Linked DNA regions of Homo sapiens: region 2 is linked to region 1. The links are contacts of gene promoters, found by promoter capture Hi-C in blood cells and fetal thymus (Javierre and others, 2016). All regions are on one chromosome and are shown on one strand. The core of a region is centred on a gene start or on the middle of the fragment in contact, and the rest is flanking DNA. Distances in the headings are between cores, read along the strand shown. Region 1 holds the start of CRCT1 (cysteine rich C-terminal 1). Region 2 has its middle 14 kb from the start of PRR9.

What was found. The method cuts DNA at HindIII sites, captures the fragments that hold promoters and counts their contacts. A CHiCAGO score of 5 or more calls a contact.
Region 2: a fragment that was not itself captured here is called in contact with the fragment with the promoter of CRCT1 in region 1 in 1 of 17 cell types (M0 macrophages); the score reaches 6.0 in M0 macrophages.

Annotation. Positions count from the first base shown.
Region 1 is chr1:152,511,583-152,516,365 of GRCh38, forward strand. CRCT1 (cysteine rich C-terminal 1) reads left to right here and starts at 2,900. Exons shown (of 2, transcript NM_019060.3): 1 at 2,900-2,970; 2 at 3,780-4,426. The coding sequence starts at 3,802. The coding sequence ends at 4,101. LCE5A (late cornified envelope 5A) reads left to right here. Exons shown (of 2, transcript NM_178438.5): 2 at 1-595. The coding sequence ends at 309. The HindIII fragment of the contact is 3,620 bases long and covers 788-4,407 here.
Region 2 is chr1:153,229,291-153,234,073 of GRCh38, forward strand. No RefSeq gene overlaps it. Among named protein-coding and RNA genes, the nearest start is that of PRR9, 14 kb to the left of the region's middle. The HindIII fragment of the contact is 3,185 bases long and covers 1,302-4,486 here.

The DNA of each region.
Region 1 (4,783 bases), core at 1,650-4,149:
ACCCCTAAATGCCCTCCCAAGTGTACTCCTAAGTGTCCTCCCAAGTGTCCCCCAAAATGCCCTCCCCAGTGTTCAGCCCCATGCCCACCTCCAGTCTCTTCCTGCTGTGGTTCCAGCTCTGGGGGCTGCTGCAGCTCTGAGGGTGGTGGCTGCTGCCTGAGCCACCACAGGCCCCGCCAGTCCCTCCGACGCCGACCTCAGAGTTCCAGCTGCTGTGGCAGTGGCAGTGGCCAGCAGTCTGGGGGCTCCAGCTGCTGCCACAGCTCTGGGGGCTCTGGCTGCTGCCACAGCTCTGGAGGCTGCTGCTGACCTGGGCCATGAGGAGCACGGAGGAGAAGGACTGGCAGATCCCAGGTGCTGAAGATGTGTGTCAGCCTGAGGCTTCTTTTCTCTCATTTCCCATGGAAGGACTTCGGAAATGCCTTAAGTTCCCCTCTTTATCCTGCCCATGTTCACTCCATTGTAGGGTTGAAGTCTAGCTTGTGATATTTTCTGGCCTGGCTTTCCCTCTCAGACATAGCTCTTTGGAGAACTAGGTGTTGTAATTCAGTTATGAAGCTATTTTCTCTGTAACAATAAAGCTTTTTATTCCTGATATCACTGCCTCCTGATTTCATTGTTTGCCTCTCCCACTCCCTACCTGCTGCATCAAGCCATCTTCCCTTCCCTTCTCTTAAATGCAAGCGAACACTTTACAAACTTGTTTAGGAAGCACATTTTGGCAGTGAAGCTACTTAGGCCTCTGGAAAACAATATTTCCTTCTATGCACTGGATTCTGGAACTTTAAGCTTGAAGGAAAGAATAATGTCTGAGACCATTACGCCAGACACAAGATTGTATGAGGAGAGCCAGGAATGGGTTTGAAGAGAAGAGGATGGTTGTACTCAAAAGGTTCAGGTTCTGAGAGGGTTTCCTTCAAGCATGGGTCACAGTTTGAAAAATTGCTTGTCCCCATTCATGGGGAATAAGATTGCCTGAAGTGCTCATCCTGGGCTCTAATAAATGGACACTCTTTACTTTTCTGATTATTATAAGCTCAGGTGTTTCCATCAGTTGGCTAGAGGGAGAGCTGGGTGGGCAGTGAGTGAGTTTTGGAGGCAGATATGAAACGTCTGAGCACATTTTCCCTGCATGCTGAAATCCTGGATTTGAATCTGGGTAAAGAACTGAGAAAGACACCCTTCTTTGCAAAGACTGTCTCTATGTGGTTGGGACGTACGTGTGTGTGTGTGTGTGTGTGTGTGTGTGTGTGTGTGCAGTGAGAGGTATAAGAGTACAGGGGTTTTGGTCCCTGTGTTGGGTTTTCCAAGCAACATTTCTTTAGGAATGGGCTGGTTCCTTCAGGAGACACTCATAATGTACCTAGAAAAGATAACTAGAAAAGTTAATTCCAAATCAGCCTTTAATATAAAAGATAAACAATTGATGCCTCCTTTGATAAGAGTTAATAGCGATAAATAAAGTAAGCTGGTTTATGAGATCATAGGATGCCCACAGAATGAGTAGGCACTTGCCCAGATTATCTCCTTATACTGATTCCTACCAAACGTTCTTCATTCTTTTTTTTTTTTTTTAAAAGAACTTTGCCCATTTTCCCAGAGGAGATCCTGCCTCTGTCTTGTTATTTCATTACTTCCTTCTCTGTTCTAATATTGACTTTACTTTTTGGAATGTCTCACCTATACTCACCAACAGGTGCTCTAGGAACTGGCAACCTGTTAATCAGGCTCTAAATCCATGTTAAATGAAACTGGTATCTTTTGTGACTTATCTTTCCTCGCCTAGTCCCTTGAGCCACTCCCAGCTCACTCGCCCCCAAACCTGTCTCTCATCCTTAATTCCTGAATTCTTAGTCTTGGACTTCTGTTATAGTTCACATTCACAGTTGTGGGCAATTTGATTAAGAAGCAGTTCTGAAGTTGACTGCCAAAGTATCCTCCAATTCTTAAAAATTAGTTATTCTGAAAACACTATCTATCATGAACACTTTGGACCTTTGGAAAGAACTTTCTTTCTTTCTTTCTCTTTTTTTTCTTCTTTCCCTCCCTCCCTTCTTCCTTTCCCATTTTCTTTTGCACTGGGCAGTGGCCCTAGGGAGAACTTATCTTCAAAGGCAGATTGGTGGTTGGGGGTGGGATAAGAAGCAGGAGTCCCACAGGCTGACTAGCCTTTTTGCAATTGGGCCACTGTCCTGCACACATTTTTCTCTTTGTCATACCATGCTGTATTATGGGGATATGGCAACCTGACTACATTCACAACTTTTCTGGTCTTATGGTTCCTTAACTTTGCCTAGGTTTTTCTTCCTGTCTCCAGTGACAGAGAGAAATCACCCCTGGGGTTCCCAAAGGTGCATCCCCGTCATCATCTTCACTCACTGCATCTTGAAGCATATGGATGAAACCCAGCAGGCTTATCGCATAGCTTGTGGTCTGCCCTGGGGAGCCAAGGACCAAGAGCCAGAGAGATGAGAATCAAGATAAAAATAGGTGAACTACCACCTACCAAGTAGATGACTACATAGGAATGGATGTGTGGGCAAGTGGAGCCGTCTGTGTGTGTGTGTGTGTGTGTGTGTGTGTGTGTGTGTGTGTGTATTGAAGACAAGGGCAGGGGTTCCAGACCTCCCTGCATTTGAGCCCCATGCCCTCTCTTAGCATACACACAGCCTCCCAGGTACAAACAGTGCCCTGTTTGGAAAGTAAACATGCCATAGCAATCCTGGCACCTCTGTGAAGTGACTTAGATGCCCACATGCACCACCTACAATGCTACCTGAGTGATGAATGTCTCTGGGATGTGAGTGTCAGCTGAGCACGTCTGTTGGGAAATGGGCCCCTCCCAAGAGCCTGAACCTGAATACTTCTTATAAAAAGGTTCTCTGGCTGGACGCTGCTCAATCCACTGCCTAGCAGGTGGCCCATTCCAGTTGGAGAACGTAGTGAGTCTTTCAGTGGAGCCAGGGTCTGGTAAGTCTCCTAGCAGGGTCTGGGGGAGAGGGTGGGATGAGTTGAGGGCACAGGGGAGGAGCAAACAGAACACAGGCAGCAGATAGATGTGGAAGGGGTGTCCCGCAAGGCACCTACGCTTCTAGTGAGCCAACCTCTTAAGGTACTAATGAGGACATAAAGGCAACATAGGAGGTGGTTTTTGCAAGGGTACACAGCAAGTCCGCAGAAGAGCTGTGACTAGAACCCAGGTCTTTCAGCTCCCTGGATGGGGTTATTTATATTGGCACAACTCTCCTTTCCCACATGGTTGTGGGGCATGAGAGGCGTAGGCAAGAAAGAATGATCAGGACATGCTTCTGGCCTGTGGATTATTTAGACCCAGCAGGTGGGACCGCCTGTTGGACTTGGGTGTTTTCTAACTGATGGGGGTGTAGTAACTAGGAAGATACAGTCGAAGGTCGGTAGGAAAGTAAAATGAGGGACAAGAAAAAAGCCAAGTGGAGATTTTGGACTGGATCATACAGATAAGTTGCCGCAGTGTGCTGTTTATTTTCCACTGTGGAGAACTTGAGCAGTCTTCTTCTAGTCAGAGAAAATGGAAATGCATTGATTCATTGCATGGATTGTGTCCTGCTCTGAGCATGTTTAACTCACTGGAAACACCTGCTTGGATTTGCTTCTTTGCGTCCGCTCTTTCTGGGTGCTTTTCCCTCCTTGTCCCAGGCCAGGCTGACTTGTACACTAAGCCGAATCTCAAAAGCCCAGACAGAGTTCCATTGGTGGAAAGAAAAAGCCGGCTCGCCTTTGAAAGGCTGCCTTTCTTCCAGGTTTGTCGTGAGGAGCTCCGCGATGTCCTCTCAACAGAGCGCCGTTTCCGCCAAAGGCTTTTCCAAGGGGTCGTCCCAGGGCCCCGCTCCGTGTCCCGCCCCGGCGCCCACCCCGGCGCCCGCCTCCTCCTCCTCCTGCTGCGGCTCCGGCAGGGGCTGCTGCGGCGACTCAGGCTGCTGCGGCTCCAGCTCCACCAGTTGCTGCTGCTTCCCAAGGAGACGCCGCCGACAGCGGAGTAGTGGTTGCTGCTGCTGCGGGGGCGGCAGCCAGAGGTCCCAGCGCTCCAACAACCGGAGCTCAGGATGCTGCTCCGGCTGCTGAGAGGCCCGCAACCCCCAGCGCTGCGCTAGAGAAACCCGCCCAGCCCAGAGCGGGCCCGCCCCGCTGCGGCTCCCACGCGGGGCTGGGCCTCGGAGTTTGCCCCGTAAAGCGAATTGCACTTTGATGTTCAGAAACCCACTTTGTTCTCAGCCACGCAAAACTCCCTGACCCCGATGTGATTTTTCTCCCCGGGGATTCGAGAGCCATGCGTGGGACACTGGACCCTACTGTCTACACGGGCTTGCACACAGCAGGTGCTCAGCAAATGTCTATTGATTTGATTGTCTTTTGAAGATGTCATAATAAAGCTTCTACCTCCTGAGAACACCTTTTATTTGTTCTTCATTCGTTTCTCCACCCAGGTAGAAAGGCTTGAAATGTTTGTGAAAGGCAGAATACTATAATTCATGCCTGAACAAGAAGGTGGCTTTCTGATAGTTAATTATGATAGCAGCGATCACATATCGACTGTTTCGAGTATTTTAAGGATTTTATGCGACAAAGTCCTTGAATATTCTCAGGACTTTATGTGGCACAATCTGATTCTCATAATGACTTGCGTAGGAGAGTGCAATTATACCCATTTTACAGAAGAGAAACTGAGGTTAAGTAATTTGTTCAAAGTCACCCAGCTGGCGCATGATAAAGAAGACAGGACATCTGATTCAAGGGCTTCATTGCT
Region 2 (4,783 bases), core at 1,644-4,143, 720 kb after region 1:
GGGGCCACCACCGCCATTCATGGTTGAAAGAAAAGAGGTGGTCAGCTGGCAGGGCCTTCTCAACTCAACCTCCCTCATCACCCGGTTCCCAAGCCAGCCTCATAACCAGTCCTCCCTCCTTTAGAAGCCGCTGGGGACCCCTTTTCTCTTCTCTTCCCAACAGCACCACCTGCTGGCCATAGAGGCACTTGGCCTTCTACTAATCACACCCAGTCTGGCCTGAGTTGGAGATGGCCGCACACACTCGGGTCCAGTCAATGCTCCATGTGGAGAAGACAAGAGTACAGAGATGCAGCATCTAACAGAGTCAGAGGAAGGCTATATGTGCAAGACAGAGTTACATTACTTATAGGGTGGGAGCAACACGAATAATGGTTCAGGACATAGGCTCAGGAATCAGACTTCTGGAATTCAAATCTAGACTCCACCACTTCTATTGTTCCCTTAAAACAAATTTCTCCTATGTGAGAGTAAGTGACACAGAATCTCCTATGAGCCAAGCACTGGAGTTACAGCAGCGAACCAGATACACAGAATCCCTGCCTCCCAGAGCTCACATGAGGAGGAAGACAGACAAAAAGCAACTCAGCAAATGCATAAATAAGAAATTGAAGAAAATGAAACAAAATGACCAGGGAAGAGGGGTGCTCTTTAGCTCGGGTAATGTGGAAAGGCCGATCTGAGGTGAGAGCAACAGAAATGATGGGTTACATGATGGTGGCAATGGCAGCGTGCTGGAGGTGAGAGGAAATCTGAGGGAACATTTTCTTGAATGTGAATTGACTGACAAAAGTGTCACTGAACACATTACCTTTGATTCCTAAATAGCCAGAATGACAAAGCCTATCTGTAGATTACTCATTGTGTTCTCATTCATTTATTTTTTCATTCAACAAATCTTTGTTGAGTAGCTACTGTATGCCAAGCTTTCCTTTAGGTGCTGGAGATGTAGCAGTAAACAGACCAAAAGTGCTGTTTTTGTGGAGTTTACACTTAGAGGACACCAAAAGCTCATTTATCCATTCACTGAGCTCCTGCTGAGCACCTAATGCCAAGCATGATGCCAGACACTGATGGGTCCCAGACCCTAAACAATAGGGCTATCTTGGGGTGGGCACATTGTGGCCAGGGTGAATATGCACCTGCATCTGTTTAGGTTTGTTCACAGGCATAAACACACACCTGCCTGAGCATGTATCCCATCAAACCTCAGACAACATGTATATACTGTTCAGATGTTTTTCAAAATGCATCGGGAAGACCCCGAAGGGGTCTCAGTAGAGGCTTTTTATTTGATTCAAAGCTTCAAAAGATTATTCCATCTGCAAAATGTATAAAGGCTGGATGTTGGAGGAAGCATGAAATAGGGAGAGGAAGGACCTGCTACTAGAGTTATGGCTAAAGGTGGTAGATGGCAGCAGTGGAGACAAAGACAAGAGGGTGACGCTAAGTGTTTTGGAGGAATAACTAACAGGAGTAGCAGGGGGACTCAATGTGTGGGGTAAAGGAGGAGAAAGAAGGCAGAAATACTCCCAAGTTTATGGCTTAGGCCACTAGGTGGATGCAGAGAGGTGAGGACTAGGAGATATGTGGGTACATGTCTGAAGCTCAGAGATATCTGGGCCAAAAATGTACATATTTGAGAGCTGTCATCACATAGAAGGTATTTAAAGATATGTGAGTGGCTGAGATCACCCAAGGAGAAGAAGAGAGGGCCCTACCGAGCTGAGGACTCCACAAGATCTCAAGGTTGGACAGCGCAGAAGGAGCCTGTACAGCCAGCTGACAAAGAGCGGTCAGTGAAGGAAGAGAAACTAGGAGGGTGGAGACTGGAAAGACAAGAGAAGACAGGTGTCCAAGAAAGGAAGGAAAATCAATGGAGTCAACCAATACTAACTGGTCAAGAAATGCAGAGTGGCTGGTGACCTTGATGAGGACAGCCTGAGTGGGGACACAGAGGCCAGAACAGAACAGAGTGGACTGAGGAGCAAAGGGAGGTACCAAGCAGGGCAGTCTGTGGGGTTCCTGGATGCAGCTGGATTGGTTTGCTGCTCAAAGAAAATCCCAGCTCAGACCTACTCTAGGACAGAAGAGGCCTTCATGAAAGATGCCTGGCTGCAGGTGTCCAGGTGTGGGAAGGTGAGTGGGAGGAGGCAGGACTGAGCAGCACTTCCCCAAACCAGGAGGGAAGCCAACACCGAAGCCCAGGCTTCCATTTATAGAGTTTCCACAAGTGGACCCGGACTACTCCACCCTGTTCACAAAGCAACCTCGCCTGAACCTTTGACACCAGAGGCTGAGTCAGGCCCAGATGGCAAACACACTTTAAGCCCTAATCAGACTTTGCATGGGTTTACTCAGCCCATGCCTGCTTCTCTGCCCCTACCATGTCCTCCTAGAAGAGGGAGCACCTCTTCCCCGTCACCCCCCAGAGACTCACCTGCATGAGGTTCACACACTGCACTCTCTCACACCATATACCACACACACACACGCACACACATACATACACAAAGTCAGTGTGATGATTCCAGATGCTGGAACCATGCCTCCCCTTGCCCTTTGCCAAATGCCTGCCATGCTGGCCACAGAGGCAGAAGGAAAATGACAATTCTGCCCTTTTGTAATGCATGCTACTATTTTTGTCCATCACAGGTTCCTCAATTTGAGGCCTAAGTGTTCCTAGACTTCATCCGGTGTTGGAGGAAGCCCTTGCTGCCAGGGAAGCCCCAGTGTGAAGACAGGACATAGCAAACCTCAGGGAGACCCCGGGATGAGGAAGAAGACAGCCCCACCCTCTGGAGCCTGCAGAGGGAATGCAGTGGAGAGACACAGTCCTGGCCTTAAGGTTATCCCCAGTTTGAGGAGAAAGAAAAGGTCCCTGGCCTCAGAAGATCCCCAGTGCTAATGTCCCCACAAAGTGTGAGGGTCTCCATCGTACGCATCTCTGTCCTCACCCTCTCCGGACTTGGATTTTTTAAAGATATAGTACAAAATACAAAATGAAAATCACATCCAACTTACTCACCTTTAAAGAGCCCTGATCAAAATATGACAAGTGTGTTTCTCCAGTCATATGTTGAGTACTCACCTGAAGTCTAACCCAGGCTGGAGTTAAAACATCGACTCTGACACTCCAGTCTTTATATCATCATATCTACCACCAACACATCACCCACGTTTACCTTGACCCAGTTTCAAATATGAGAATTTTAGATTCAGAGGCAGAGCAGGGGTCAAGAACTGGCGTAGAGCCAGGCTCCTCAGAATGTGGCCTGTCCCTGTTCACACGGCCCAGGCAAAGCCTCACCAGGGAACCATGCTCCAGCTCCCTGCCCCACTCCAATCCTGCAGACCCCAGGTGACATTCCTGAGGCCACACAGCCTGAGTAATGACACAGCTTAGTGGAGCTGACTCATGGAAAGAGTTGCCCCATGTGCATTTGGAGGACAAGGACAGTTGTGCAAGGTGTTTGTGACAGGCCATGAGGAGGGGCAGGACGTGAGGCAGCAAGAAGTACCAGTTGGTAATTGTCATTACTTCTACTAGAATCTCCAGGTGACAAATCTACCTCAGTGCCCATAGCCCTAGATGTTGCAAAGCAAAGCAGCACTTCCACCCACGGCCTCAAAGAGCATTAAAGAGTCACTCTGTTTCAGCTCACATGAAATCAAACCATCAGTCCATCTGACTGCCCTCTGGATCGCAGCTCTTGGCTAGGTACAAGAGCTGGGGATATGAGGTCTTTTCAGCCCCCTTATCTGTGAAAGAATGGGATTGCACTAGATGCTCTTTATGGCTTCTTCCACCTATGACATCCAGTGGTTCTAAGCAGGTCTCAACAGGGACCCTGAAGTATGTCATACATATGTGACACAAGAGGGGAACCCACTCAGAGCACCCAAGTTCAAGGTCCCAAGAAAGGAAAGCCCAGTCTCCAGCTCCATACTACAGGCTAGTGGCAAATCCCTGGCACAAAGAATGTTGGCAGTCAAATACAAATGTGAGGATCGTTCATCAAACTGGCATGCTGTGTCCATTCATCTATTCATTCATTTGATAAGCATTTAATGGGAGCCTTCTATGCCTGCTATGGAGCCAGCTACTAGATATGCAGAAAATAATAGACAAAGCCACTCCCCTCAAGGGCCTCAAAGTCAACTGGCAGAGGCAGAGGCAGAAAGAGGAAGAAAAAAAAAGCAACATGCTGAAAGAAATACAATGTTGGAGAAATGTCCAGCTTAAAAGGGGCCAGGAGAGGGATTGCCAAGGTGAGCGAGGAATCAAATTCACTGAAGACATAGTTGAGCTGTTAACACTTAAAAGAAACTGGACTTGGAACCCCCACCATCAACTTGGACTCTAATTCATGACATATATGACCTTTGTACTCTCTGTTTCCTGACTTATAAAATGAAAGTACTGAAGTATGTGCCCACAAAGCACAGAGTTCTGAATACTAAAAAAATTAATATAGTAGCTCCAAGCTTAAGCATGGACTCAAAAACAAAATATAATTCAATCTCTACAGGTCAAAATCAGCCATGGGCTCAAGCACTAAGTAAGCTCAATCCTTAATGAGTGGCAACATTCAAATCTCAGTACAACTGCAACATTTTAAGCATTTAAGTGTTAGTAAATGTCTTAGAATTTCCTTGATAATTATACTAATAATATAATAACACTGTTAGATTAAATGGATTTGTGCCTTCCTGCCATGCGTAGTTGAAAGACAGATGATGTAGCTCTATATCATGATTCAAAGTCTCAAGGGACTAGGTC